Regions from separate parts of the Homo sapiens genome. Here all the other regions are linked to region 1. Evidence: promoter capture Hi-C in 16 types of primary human blood cells and fetal thymus (Javierre and others, 2016). All regions are on one chromosome and are shown on one strand. The core of a region is centred on a gene start or on the middle of the fragment in contact, and the rest is flanking DNA. Distances in the headings are between cores, read along the strand shown. Region 1 holds the start of SLC28A3-AS1 (SLC28A3 regulatory antisense RNA 1). Region 2 overlaps GKAP1 (G kinase anchoring protein 1). Region 3 overlaps KIF27 (kinesin family member 27). Region 4 overlaps HNRNPK (heterogeneous nuclear ribonucleoprotein K). Region 5 overlaps RMI1 (RecQ mediated genome instability 1).

The links. Contacts are between HindIII fragments. The CHiCAGO score rates a contact against its expected background, and 5 or more counts as called.
Region 2: a fragment that was not itself captured here is called in contact with the fragment with the promoter of SLC28A3-AS1 in region 1 in 1 of 17 cell types (neutrophils); the score reaches 6.7 in neutrophils.
Region 3: a contact is called between a fragment that was not itself captured here and the fragment with the promoter of SLC28A3-AS1 in region 1, in 2 of 17 cell types (total B cells and neutrophils). The highest score is 5.6, in total B cells.
Region 4: a fragment that was not itself captured here is called in contact with the fragment with the promoter of SLC28A3-AS1 in region 1 in 8 of 17 cell types (naive B cells, total B cells, M0 macrophages and 5 more); the score reaches 15.8 in naive B cells.
Region 5: a fragment that was not itself captured here is called in contact with the fragment with the promoter of SLC28A3-AS1 in region 1 in 2 of 17 cell types (naive B cells and total B cells); the score reaches 6.8 in naive B cells.

Annotation. Positions count from the first base shown.
Region 1 is chr9:84,276,859-84,279,591 of GRCh38, reverse strand. SLC28A3-AS1 (SLC28A3 regulatory antisense RNA 1) reads right to left here and starts at 1,422. Exons shown (of 2, transcript XR_001746802.1): 1 at 1,193-1,422. SLC28A3 (solute carrier family 28 member 3) reads left to right here. Exons shown (of 18, transcript NM_001199633.2): 17 at 207-327; 18 at 1,248-2,733. The coding sequence ends at 1,374. RefSeq lists enhancers at 1,005-2,204, 2,337-2,733. The HindIII fragment of the contact is 13,311 bases long and covers 1-2,733 here.
Region 2 is chr9:83,787,960-83,790,692 of GRCh38, reverse strand. GKAP1 (G kinase anchoring protein 1) reads left to right here. Exons shown (of 13, transcript NM_025211.4): 5 at 2,015-2,092. Among named protein-coding and RNA genes, the nearest start is that of GKAP1, 28 kb to the left of the region's middle. The HindIII fragment of the contact is 1,756 bases long and covers 539-2,294 here.
Region 3 is chr9:83,914,634-83,917,366 of GRCh38, reverse strand. It overlaps KIF27 (kinesin family member 27), which reads left to right. Exons shown (of 18, transcript NM_017576.4): 2 at 1,689-2,073. The coding sequence starts at 1,776. Among named protein-coding and RNA genes, the nearest start is that of KIF27, 5.4 kb to the left of the region's middle. The HindIII fragment of the contact is 6,796 bases long and covers 1-2,733 here.
Region 4 is chr9:83,972,892-83,975,624 of GRCh38, reverse strand. It overlaps HNRNPK (heterogeneous nuclear ribonucleoprotein K), which reads left to right. Exons shown (of 17, transcript NM_031263.4): 6 at 120-163; 7 at 1,036-1,108; 8 at 1,652-1,723; 9 at 2,226-2,339; 10 at 2,653-2,733. It overlaps HNRNPK-AS1 (HNRNPK antisense RNA 1), which reads right to left. Exons shown (of 2, transcript NR_186535.1): 2 at 1-192. Among named protein-coding and RNA genes, the nearest start is that of HNRNPK-AS1, 2.2 kb to the right of the region's middle. The HindIII fragment of the contact is 2,850 bases long and covers 1-2,675 here.
Region 5 is chr9:84,001,649-84,004,381 of GRCh38, reverse strand. It overlaps RMI1 (RecQ mediated genome instability 1), which reads right to left. Exons shown (of 3, transcript NM_001358291.2): 3 at 308-2,733. The coding sequence ends at 1,518. Among named protein-coding and RNA genes, the nearest start is that of RMI1, 22 kb to the right of the region's middle. The HindIII fragment of the contact is 3,800 bases long and covers 1-2,733 here.

The DNA.
Region 1 (2,733 bases), core at 173-2,672:
TGCGTGCCTGTAATCCCAGCTACTTGGGAGGCTGAGGCACTTGAATCGCTTGAACCCGGGAGGCAGAGGTTGCAGTGAGCAGAGATCATGCCACTACACTCTAGCCTGGGCAAAAGCGCAAGACTCTGTCTCTAAATAAATAAATATATAAATACATAAATAAAACTAAAAAATAATAAATAAATGGGACTCTGTTCCACTTCTAGGCATACTCTCCAGCACTCCTGTGGACATCAACTGCCATCACGTTTTAGAGAATGCCTTCAACTCCACTTTCCCTGGAAACACAACCAAGGTGATAGCTTGTTGCCAAAGTCTGTTGAGCAGGTATTGTATTCTTGATTATAATTTCTTTATACTCCATTAATAATCAATCAAATCACACCTAAATATCCACTTACTTTTTTTTTTTTTTTTTTGAGACGGAGTCTTGCTCTGTCTCCCAGGCTGGAGTGCAGTGGCGCAATCTCCGCTCACTCATCGACTTAATTTTATAACTTTATGACTCTATTTAAAAGTAAGAACTTATGCAGTGATTCTAACCACCTTTCACTCTGACTTTTCTCAGATAAGGCTAGCAACTATAACACTAGCTAGTGCTACTCAAGCATTTAATATGCACCCAGCTGTGTGTTACGCACTTTGTATGAATTAGCTCACTTAAACCTTGCAACTACTGTATAAGTTGGGCACTATCTTTTTTTTTTTTTTTTCATTCCACAAAATTAAGGCTTAGGGAAGCTATGTCTACTCCAGCAAAATTAGCACAAGTACAAGTGAGATACAAAATTCAGGCTGATCTTCCTGCTAAGCCTATGCCCTTAACTGCTACCCTCTGCTGGCTCCCCTTCAAGGGGATCCAGGCTGTCCAGACAACACGATGATCGTCTATGGTGAACAAGAAACTACCAGTGACCCATGCCAGCCACCCCCACCCTGTACAGTTTTAATTTGCAAAATCAGTGTTCCCACACAAGGTGCCATCCTTAATGTGCAAGTGTTTTATAAGGATTGATTCTATCCTATCTTTGCTTGTTATGGAGGAAATAGGGAAAGTTCTTGAGGACACCCAGAATTTAGGAGCCAAAACAAATTCCCCAGTGTCTCTGTCCTTTAATCCACCCTAACCAGAATGTGAGCAAGAAAATCAGCTTCCTGCCCTGAACTATTTTTAATGTCATTGTCTGCTCACCTACTGTTTCTGCCATCTATGGCTCATGTAACTGTTTCTTTCCACTTTCCACCAGCACTGTTGCCAAGGGTCCTGGTGAAGTCATCCCAGGAGGAAACCACAGTCTGTATTCTTTGAAGGGCTGCTGCACATTGTTGAATCCATCGACCTTTAACTGCAATGGGATCTCTAATACATTTTGAGGTCAGCCACTTCTCCAGTGGAACTCTGAAGTACAGATGCTGAATTTTCTGCTTTGGAAAGAAAAAAAAAAGAAGCTATTGTCCACAGATTGATGCTTCCATAATGGAATCAGCTTTAATTGCAAGGAATGAAGAAAAACAAGAGTGGACCTTCAAAGCTACAACATTTTCCTCCTCCCCTCCCTCCCCACCAGCCCCTTCCCCACCAAGAACTGCTATGATGTCCCAAAGTGAGGTGTTGTTGATTCCAGTCTCAATGGGATTTTCTGACTTTAATGTTTGCAAGGCATTTCACCAGAATACAGCTATAAACGGCCGCTCCCAACAACTGGGCTCTGACTCACCCACACCCACTTAGTGTCCACTAAGTAGTCCAGGGTGACTCAGTTTAAGCACATCTCAGGTGAGGTCACTCTGCATATACCTTGGCTTACCTGAAATAGCCTGAACTTGAATCTCACATAAGGGAAAACTAGTCATCAATCACCAACTCATTGACTACCCTCAGGAAGTCCTGCAGAAATCAAGAGTCCTTGAGGAGAACACGTGGATCATACCAAAACCAGGGTTTAAATCCATTCTGCTTAAGAGTTCTATCAGTCAGTTTAACCATAAATTACGCTACAGAAACAAACAACCCAAAAACCTCAGTGGCTTACAGATTTATTTTTCACTCACATGTTTGTAATGATCCATCTTGGTTGTAATCCATATTGCTTCAGCACCCAGTCTAAAGGAGCAGCCTCTAAGGGGGGCATGTTGGTCTTAAGAGGGAAAAGAAAGGTGGGAACCACATGATGGCTCTTTCATCTTCCGCTAGGAAATGATACCCTTTACTTCCATGACATTCCATTAGCCAAAACAAGTCCTGTGACAGGCACGATGTCAGTCACCACAGTTAAATTATCCTGTCATAGGGAGGGATAGTGAATATTTTGCAGAAGTAATATGATACACCATAAGGGTACATAATATCCATGTCTCCCTTCAAGGAGCCATCCTGTTGTAGGCCATAACGGTAGGCCTATTCATCTGCACATTTGGTAATGTATTCCTGGTGACAAAGCAGCTACTCTTCAATCAAAAGCCGTGTAAGAAGCAGTTGAGGAAAAAAAGTCCTGGTTGAGCTCTGAAAACCTTGCGTTGATAATTTCATTGACCAGGATGGCATCAGTATCAAACTTGAAGAATGGGTGTCAGTGTCTAAGAAAAAGATTCCAGAGACAATGGTGGTGTGCTCTTTAACGAAATGCCCATCACCACTGCTCTTAATAGCATGAAGACCACATGCTGTGAGAAAACACAAACATCAATTACCAAGTCAAGAAACAGACACTGAATGTGAAAAAGGTTTTGAAA
Region 2 (2,733 bases), core at 167-2,666, 490 kb after region 1:
TACAGGCATGCACCACCATGCCAGGCTGTTTTTTTGTTTGTTTGTTTTTTTGTTTTGTTTTGTTTTGTTTTTTGTATTTTTAGTATTTCACCATGTTGGCCAGGCTGGTCTCAAACTCCTGACCTCAGGTGATCCGCCCACCTCGTCCTCCTAAAGTGCTGGGATTATAGGCGTGAGCCACTGTGCCGGCCTAGTTTTGTTAATTTTTCTGTTAGGATGATTACTGTCCTTTAAGTTTAGTGAAACATTTTATTATCAGTTTGCCATGAGGTTAGGTGGAGAAATTGATGGAAATTTCCTTTTACCTTATAACCATTGAATACCCATGTACATAAGTGTATATAGTAAGACTAAAAGATTAATTTATTACTTTTTCTTGCTAATTACTAGTTCAGAGTAATTCTTCAATTCTTTTCAGTTATTCCATAAAGTATGTATAATTTACACTGGGCTTAATCTGATTTTCTAGTTCTATATATCCTTACCATTTTAATTCTAATTGTATTTTTCTGCATTCGATTGTTTTTCTGTGTAAGCTTAATCTTTTTTTCCTCTCTTTTTATTGTATCAGCATAGGATTAGATGCTTTCAAAGGGATGACTTTGCTTAGAAATGTTTAGTTCATAGTGTCTATTAAGATTTTTCTAGTTTTTAAGGTTTCTCCTTGAAACAGATCACTTCTTTTTGGAGTTGGTTTCTATTTTAGTTTAGATTTTTAAAAATCATTAAGTAATAGAAACAATTATGATTAACTTAGCCAAAAACCTTTTTTGAAGGATACTGAGTGATTCACAGATTTGAATTAAAAACTAAATAATTAGGTCTTGAAAAAGCTGGAAACCAAGGAATTTGGGAGTGCTCAGAGGCATGAGCTAGTAGATGTCATTTTTCGAGGGTTATCATCAGATAATTAAACCCACCTGCTTTTCCTTTGTTCTCAAAATTTAATTCCTGGGAGGAAAAAAAAGGAATTGGATCACTTGCCCCCACCTTTTGTCATTGGTGATGATAGCTTGGGTGTTTGTGTGGTATGGTAGTGCTTAGTGTACAGAATTATGCGACTGGCTGTTCTGCTGAAACCATGGGACTTTGGAATGAAGTGCACTTATTTAAAGGAATCGAGGAAGGGATTCTGGACAGATAAAAACAAGAGATGCCCACTAAATTTATGCTTTTGTTATCCTGTACACATAGACACATACATGTACACAAATCCAGGATGTTTACCCATGTCATGTTGCAGCTATCTTATATACAGCTGCAAACCCACTCACCTTATGCCCAGTAGTGGACAACTCAAAGTCGCATCCAACTACTGCAACATTCTGTTTGGCAATTAGGAAAAGTAAGTCTTGTAGAGATTAATTGGATTGGAGGGTGGTGAAAACTGGATTTTAAAAAGTTAGGTGAGATTGATTAGTGAAAAAGAGAAACAAATATATATCACAAAGAATCATTATTAGATGACTTAAAGCAACCATATAGTTTATCATTTTGAGAGTAAAAAGATGCACTATGAACAATTATTCTGTAACACCTGGCATATGCCAGGACATTTGGCAAACTTATTTTGTACCTGTGGTTTTTTCTATATTCATGAAATGGCATATTGTGTTTAATAATGCTTATTGAGTTATTTTTTAGTATTCTTATATTTTTGAGTAATAATCACTCATAATTTTTAGTGTCCTAAACTGAATGTTGCCTTTGACATCTATTATAGTGCCAATTATTTGGTAAGATTTTTTTATTAAGGTAAAAAGTAAGATTATATCATATATAATAGATAACAATGAAGAGGAGAAATGGAAATCTCAAAATTGGAAGTTTGTATTTTGATGTCTTCTATAGAATATAGGCTTCCTAGTTTGGCATGGTTAGATAACTTTGGAGAATCCATATTGTTTTTTAACATATTTGCTTTCTTTTCCTCTGTATATAGTAATATGTATGGTTATTTTGCTCATGTGATGTAATGATACTGTCTGTTTATTGTGAAACTTTTTTTTTGTAGCTGACATCTGAAATGTTTGAAGCAGATCTTGAGAAGGCATTGTTACTAAGTAAACTAGAATATGAAGAGCACAAAAAGGTATTTACATACTTACTGATTTAGATATTTTAGAAGTTTAAGTGGTGAGAGGTTAAAATCAACCTACTTGAATTTTACATAAAATTTTTCTGTAAAAGTTTGTCCAAAAATTCATTACCATAATAAAATATTACCAAGAAGTGTTTATAATAGGATTCCTTCTCAAGTTTTGAGATAGAACAGAAACAGTTGGAATTAAGCTTTGTCCGGTGACTTGGAATGTTAAGGAATTTCCCCACCCAAGATGAAGGGAAGAGAGAGAATAAAATTCACAACAGATGATTTTAATTTAATTTTATTTATTTTTATTATTATTTTTTCTTGGGACCGAGTCTCACTCTCTTGCCCAGGCTGGAGTGCAGTGGCATGATCTCACCTCACTGCAACCTCCGCCTCCCAGGTTCAAGCGATTCTCACGCCTCAGCCTCCTGAGTAGCTGGGACTACAGGCGTGAGCCACCACACCCAGCTACATTTTGTTTTTTTAGTAGAGATGGGATTTCGCCATGTTGGCCAGGCTGGTCTCAAACTCCTGAGCTCTGCTGATCCACCCACCTTGGCCTCCCAAAGTGCTGGGATTACAGGTGTGAGCCACTGTGCCCTGCCGATTATTTTAATTTTAAATGAACATAGAAAATAAGT
Region 3 (2,733 bases), core at 121-2,620, 360 kb after region 1:
CTTTCAATTCATAAACATGAGATGTTTTTTCATTTACATCTTGTGCTTTCTTCTAACAGTATTTTATAGTTTTCAGACTATATGTTTTACACATCTTTTGTTAAATTTATTTCTAAGTATTTTATTCTTTTTGATGCTATTGTAAATGGAATTGTTTTTTACATTTATTTTTAAGAGTGTTCTGCCACAGGAAGGGGAACATCACACATTGGGGCTTGTTGTGGGGTGGGGGAAGGGGGGAGGGATAGCATTAGGAGATATACCTAATGTAAATGACAAGTTAATGGGTGCAGCACACCAACATGGCACATGTATACATATGTAACAAACCTGCACGTTGTGCACATGTACCCTAGAACTTAAAGTATAATAAAATATATATATTTAAAAAAAAAAGAGTGTTCTGTCGTGCGCGGTGGCTCACGCCTGTAATCCCAGCCCTTTGGGAGGCCAAGACAGGCGCATCACGAGGTCAGGAGATCGAGACCGTCCTGGCTAACACGGTGAAACCCCATGTCTACTAAAAATAGAAAAAATTAGCCAGGCATAGTGGCGGGTGCCTGTAGTCCCAGCTACTCTGGAGGCTGAGGCAGGAGAATGGTGTGAACCCGGGAGGTGGAGCTTGCAGTGAGCCCAGATCGCGCCACTGCACTCCAGCCTGAGCGACAGAGCGAGACTCCGTCTCAAAAAAAAAAAAAAAAAAAGTGTTCATTGTAAATGTAGTTACCAATTATTTGTTTATATATATTTTTAGCCAGGAAACTACAGCCATCAATTTAAATTTTAATGTATTAATTCTAGCAGAGATCTTCAGAAATAAGTACAACATAATATTTAGAAGTAGAAAAAGCAGTTTTTCTGTTAGTTTTGATTATTTTTGAATACAAATTTAGTTTTAAATTTATGTTGACTTATTGAAATTCTTAAAACTATTTTCATGGATTTATTTCTAATAATTGTGGCAAAGAGGAGATGCTATTTTTCAATGCATAGCTATAAAATCTAGTACTAATGTTTGTTTTTAACACATGTACAGGCTGGGCACGGTGGCTCACGCCTGTAATCCTGGCACTTGGGAGGCCGAGGCGGGCGGGTCACCTGAGGTTCGGAGCTTGAGACCAGCCTGGCCAATATGGTGAAACCCTGTCTCTACTAAAAATACAAAAATTAGCTGGGTGTGGTGGCGGGCGCCTGTAACCCCAGCTACTCGAGAGGCCTGAGGCAGGAGAATCACTTGAACCTGGTAGGCAGAGGTTGCAGAGAGCCGAGATCTCACCACTGCGTTCCAGCCTAGACTCCATCTCAAAAAACAAAAAAACGTGTGTACAGTTCCTTACTTATCTCCTTGCCTTAATTTTCTAACTCCCTGGTTATTTAATATTTAGATTAATGAACTGGGAAACATTATTACTGTAGAAATAAAGGCCCAATGGAATCCCATGTACTTATCACCTAGCTTCATCATTTATCAACTCATGGACCCCACACCTAGATTATTTTGAAGCAAACCCAAGACATACTAGTTTGTCTACAAATTTACGATGTATTTTACAAGACAGGCTTACTCTTTGTAACTGTGTTGTATTGGAACAAAACCTGTTCTAATTGACTTTGCTTTAGAAGGTGGTTAGTTTATTGGGATACAAGGAATCAGTAATTAAAATTTGCTTTTTATTTTTGTTGCACAGGAATCCAGATCTTACATAAGATGGAAGTCTCTCACACTAGATACTGAACATTAAATAGAAAATCTATTTAGTAAAATCTAAGTTGCCATGGAAGAAATACCAGTAAAAGTTGCTGTAAGAATTAGACCTCTGCTTTGCAAAGAAGCTCTTCATAATCATCAAGTTTGTGTGAGAGTTATTCCAAACAGCCAGCAAGTTATCATTGGGAGAGATAGAGTCTTCACTTTTGATTTTGTTTTTGGCAAAAATTCCACTCAAGATGAAGTTTATAACACATGTATAAAGCCCCTAGTGTTGTCACTCATTGAGGGCTATAATGCAACTGTTTTTGCCTATGGACAAACTGGATCTGGGAAGACATACACCATTGGAGGGGGCCATATTGGTAAGATTCTTATACTCTTTGACTTTTATTTGTGACGCTAGAAAGAAGCAAAAATATGACCAATACCTGACACATGGTAGGTGTTTAGCATATTGATTGAATAGTGAAGGAATGAATCATGTAATCAAATGTGATCATAAGATCATCATCTTTGAAAGATTCGTTTTTAAATATTGAAGTTTCATTAAGCAATCTAACTTAGGATTATATTTGCTTGAGGAAAGAAGTTTAAAATAGTTTTCAGTGGTCAGCCCTTGTTATTTTGAACAGAATTTAAAATAGAGATAAATGAGTTAACATGATTAGATTTTGCATTCTTTAACAAGCCAGTTGTAAATATTAAGAGTCCCGCAATCAGGACTTAGGGACCGTAGGAAAAATTTATTATGTAAAGTATCTTTTCTTTTTCATATTCTAGCCAGATTTCTTTTTTAAATTCTGAATATTTTAGGACATAATTTCTCCTGCTTATAATTGTAGTTTGGAAAAGATGGAATCATAGGATCTCATATAGAGCTGAAGGGAACCTTGGAAATCATTTTAGTTAAGTGTCTGGTAATAGAGTGGGGGAATTGACAGCCAAGTCCTCTGTTAAGATTGTTTACTGTATTTATATTTTTCCACTAAAAACAAACTTTTGAGTAGTGCACATATGCATCA
Region 4 (2,733 bases), core at 1-2,500, 300 kb after region 1:
AACCCTGGTTGGCTATGCCCAAAAATGTGCTCGTTGCCAAACGGGTACCATACTTGACAACTTCTGATTGAATGCCCATGCCCAATGCCAACATCCACGAACGCCAATGACCAATGCAGTACAATGCCAGTGTTTCAGTCCCAGACAGCAGTGGCCCCGAGCGGTATGTCCCAACAGTTTATGCCTCACTGCCTGATTAGAAAGAGAGAAATGTATTTTATTACCTGCCTTTTATATAATTAAATAGTATCCCCTTTAGACGGTGTATTGTTTTTCAAGTTTCTGTCTTATTTTCCCCATTAAGTCTTTTTGTCACTGAACTTTTACCGTGAGTTGCCCACCCAAACGATCCACTAATTTTATTTCGATGGAAGGAGCACAGCTTCAAGTGTTGCATATTTGCCGCATTGTAAATCAAATTGTTACCAAAATAGTCTCTCGCTCTGTCTTTGTGGCCCACCTTGCTTCCCAACATTGCCTGTTCATAATTTTTTCTGATGAAATGCTAACTCTGGTTCACTTTCCTTCACTTCTCATTTGTGTTGTCTTTGTTTTGTCTTGCATTTGTATTTGTTTTCTTGCAGAGCCCATTAGTGATCTAATTTCTAACTGGTATTCATAACCTTACTCCAGATACAATGTTCACCACTTGCATATTCCCCCACTTTGCCTAAGAGAAGGTGTGCCAGTTTTACCAATGTAACAGCAAGGGTATCCTTAACTCAGTGGTGGCGGGGAACATAAATATTCAACTCTGCTTCAGTTCTGGTCAGTTTATTGCCCACTTAATCTGAGCCCTTCCAAAAGCCCATTCTCTCTGTCTCTCTGCAAGTCTCCTAATATTGTTATCATGTCTGTATTGGGTATAAAACAAAATGCATGTGAGAAATCTATAAATAGGCTACTTTAAATGGGGAATATTAAATAATCATGTGTTACATCTCTGTGAAAGTTTGTATGATTTGGTGACAAACACAAAACTCATTTTTCTTTTCCACCTTTTTTGTACTATCTGGTATTTGTGGTGTTTGACAGCATATTGAGTATCAGTGCTGATATTGAAACAATTGGAGAAATTCTGAAGAAAATCATCCCTACCTTGGAAGAGGTAGGCTCATTTTTTTTTAAATGTATTTGACAATATGAGGGGGGAATGTTTAAAGTATGTTGTATTGGGGTATGATGGGGGAGGTGGAGAGACAATGGATATGACAGTTTGTAGCAGTATCTTAACCTGCTACATAATTTTGTACATGCGTAATTTGTTTTTTTTTTTTTAAAAAAAAAAACAGGCTGGCCACTCCTGGAGTAAATGTGAACTTAACCTGTGGTCATGTGCTTTCATGGGTTTAGTATGTATTTTATGGGCTTTAGTTATCAGAAAGATTTTTAAAATTAGAATATTTGTGGGAACATGTTGAAAAGGAGAATTAGTTAGATTTAGTTAGGATTTTAAGACTCTACATAATTCACTAGGTGTATATAGAGAAAAATATTTTATGTTTTGAATCGTCTTAATGTTGAATAAAGCAGTTTCTCATTATTTAATAATATAGATTTAAAATATGTTGTAGTAGCTTTACCAATATATGCGACAATAGCCTGATCACGCTAGACACTTAACCTATTACTCTTATTTTTCTACTTTCAGGGCCTGCAGTTGCCATCACCCACTGCAACCAGCCAGCTCCCGCTCGAATCTGATGCTGTGGAATGCTTAAATGTATGTCATAGTGCCATTGAACCCCACTGAAGTATGGAGCCTGGCCCATAGGATCGATTATATTTTTAACATAGTGTGCTTTTCCCATCTCTATAGAAAAAGGCTTAAAAACATGATACATGAATGGTCTTACAACTCACTGTTGACCCTGCTCCATGCTGCAGTGGGAATTAACTACATTTGCAAAGTGCTTTGCAGTCATTTTTATTATGGTGTTATTTGAATGTTAATAATAATTTTGTGGTAACAGCGACATGCTAAATGGCTGCAGTGTGGGTATGGTGTTGCAGGACCTGAAAATAAAATAGTTTTTTAAGGTGGTGCAGAATGTCCTTTTTGGGCCTGGCTATTGAGGATAATAAGCACATAACTGGTAAAGTTATTGAAATATAAATTCAGGTTGCTCACTGCAACAGTATATTATTGTTATGCTTATAGCAGATAAGTGTGTATTGGGGAATTGTTGATTTGAGACTAAAATTTTATAATTCTCCCTCCACAGTACCAACACTATAAAGGAAGTGACTTTGACTGCGAGTTGAGGCTGTTGATTCATCAGAGTCTAGCAGGAGGAATTATTGGGGTCAAAGGTGCTAAAATCAAAGAACTTCGAGAGGTAAAAAAAAAAAAATTCTGCCGTATTCTTTGCTGGAAAGTAAATTTTCATATAGACTTGTTTCTGTGAGCTTCTCTCGCTTCCCCTCTCAGTTCCCTCCAAAGATTGCTTATCGCAAATGACAAAAAATGTCTGGCACTGCTAGACATGTTATTTTGTCAAAATTTTTATACCATTGCAAAGCCCTGTGATAATTAATGAAGTTTTTATATTGTGGGGGGTTAATTGTTGAATTCAAATGCAATTTTCACTGAACCTAGGAAAGCTAATTTTCTTCTAATTATTATTATTTTTTTTTATGATCTTACTACAGAACACTCAAACCACCATCAAGCTTTTCCAGGAATGCTGTCCTCATTCCACTGACAGAGTTGTTCTTATTGGAGGAAAACCC
Region 5 (2,733 bases), core at 163-2,662, 280 kb after region 1:
ATCCCAATTTTCAAGCCCCATTCACAGAGATGAGAGTATAGAAGGAGAAAATTTAATGAAAAGATAATGAAAGATAAAGCTATCCCATTCAGATCACTTATTAAAAAGCTATGCAAGTATATAGACAAGATTATTACTAGGGCATATATTAGCAATATCTGTGTCCTGGTGCTTTGAACCCTGATACAACAATGAAAATATTTTAAAATCTTTCTCTTCTACTTCTATTATCATACATCATACATGTATTTATCTTACTTCCTGATATTTCGTTACATTATTTTCAATAAAATAAAACACCAATGTATTTTGTTATTTAAGGATTTGTTTAATGTTTTAAAATTCAAAGCACTTTAAATTATTTTAAGACAAAAGATTAATAAAAACAACATTACCTTTCAAATACAACTTTATAACAGCACAGTGGAAGAATGGTAAACAGTCCCTCTTTTTTTTAAAAAAAAATCAGTACTTAAAACCAAAGGAAGGCTTATATGTACAGCTAATTCAGAAAGGGAACAATGACACCTAAAGACATAGATAAATGCTTCATTTTAATCCAATAAATGTCCTACCTACTGGATCTTAATAATGATGTTTTCAATATGCCATTTAAAATAAACTATCCTTGAAAATAAAGTTTTAAATCATTCAATATAATCTATGAAATAGCATCTAGTTAACTAGATTACCTTAAATATACCAAATATTATAATCAGCAAAATAAAAACCAGTAAATCAATTTGTATCTGAAAGCCTGATGTTCTGATCTACTGGATTTTAATTTTTTTTCCCTAAGATTAACAATATAAACAAATCTTTTGGGTACTCAACATATTATGACAAGCTCAGGCATGTTCAGGGTGGTATGGCCATAGACAGTACCAACATATTAGAAGGAAATTACCTATTTATAATTATTAACTTTCAAAAATATGACTCACCACCGAACACCAGTACAATATTTTAGCAATCATCTTATGTGACGTGACAAGTGGAAAACAAATTTCTCAACAATAGTGGGTCACCATATTCCTCCATCTAACAGTTACTTTTAAAAAAAGTAAACTTTGGAGGCCATGACGGCAGGAGTGAGAGGCCAGGAGTTTGAGACCAATCTGGGCAACATAGCAAAACTCTGTCCCTACAAAACAATAATAGTAATTATAAATTAGCTGGGCATGGTGGTACATGCCTATAGTCCCAGCAACTCAAGAGGCTAAGGCAGGAGGATCGCTTGAGCTCAAGAGGTTGATGCAATAACCTATGATCATGCCACTGCACTCTAGCCTGGGCAACAGAGCAATACCCTGACATTAAAAAAAAAAAAAAAAAGATTAACTTATTTTCAAAAGCTCCACATATAACAAACATGATTAAACACTTTAAAATTAAACTGAAATAAGCTATGAAATTTCATTTTTCCTTTTTACACAAAGTATCATAAGTAAAATTGTGAACAAATTCTAAATATTTCCTTGTTGTTTTTAATTGTTCCTAATACTATTTTAGTTTAATTATTTATTTAACCGCTTCTTTAGATTCTCAAGGTGTTCCATATTAACATCTTGTAATGCCAGTACCATTGCTTTAGACAAGGAAGGATTAAATGAAATAGTCATTAGACAGCACAAATCTATTAGATCTCTTTGACATTTCTGCAACCCTTCCAGGAACTTTTGGTATTGAAGAGGATCCTTTTTTGACTGTTTCATTTCTGGTACTGAGAACCCTATCAAGCTAGTAAGTATTTCATCCACAAAGTCTACATCTAGATATGCAGTACCATCAGACACCTTTGCAGTTATACTCCAAATACCACCAGAACTTGAGAGATTTCCAGTTAAGGTTACAATAAATGCTTTCACTTTCACTGTTGTAACTTCCTTTGGTTTGCTGGCCATTAGAACAGACAAATAGACAAAGGGTGGAGAATACAAATCCATGGCAATAGAAAGATTAATGCTATTCTCTGATGATCTTAAAGAACAACTCTGTAAATTACAATCATTTTCATTAGAAATTTGTGAATTCCTTTTCTGTACATAGTTGACCACCTCTCTATTTAATATTTTATTATTTAAGGAATGGCTATCTGAACTGCTGGTTTGTTTTATTTTATTATCTGTCTCTAAGTTCTTTTCTTTATTTGTAAAATCATGGGCTAAGGGTACATTACAATGAACTGAAAAAATACTCCTGTTTTGGTCTCTAACAGATGGACAACCAAATGATTTGTCTTCATTAGTCATTTGTTCAGATACATTTTTTTCACTCCAATTATTGTTTCCATTTTTGCAAGTCAAAGAAAAGTTATTCGTAGTATTAGGATTATGTGAAAATCTCTCTATACTTCGATCGGCATTTCTGTTAAAAGTCAATGGTTGCAATTCCTTAGTTTCCATCTGTTCTTTCTGGACAGTTTCTTCTAAAAGCAAGGCCTCCTCCAGTGAAAAGTCATCTAATTCTCCATCCATTACATGTATAGATAGGTTTGATGGTTCCTCTTTTGGTCTTGGAGAAATAACAAATTCTGGCTCAAAACTTGACTGTCTTGTGGGAATGGTATTTGAGGAACTACCTGTGGTGAAACATCGTTCTGAGGAAGTGTCATTATTTGCTGTAAGCTCATCATTTTCATCAAGACTTGCCAAGAGTTCTTCATCAGAAGGACCTAATGCAGGATCTAGAACATCTGTAACTCTGGGAATGTTTTCGTTAGAATTGTTTGGT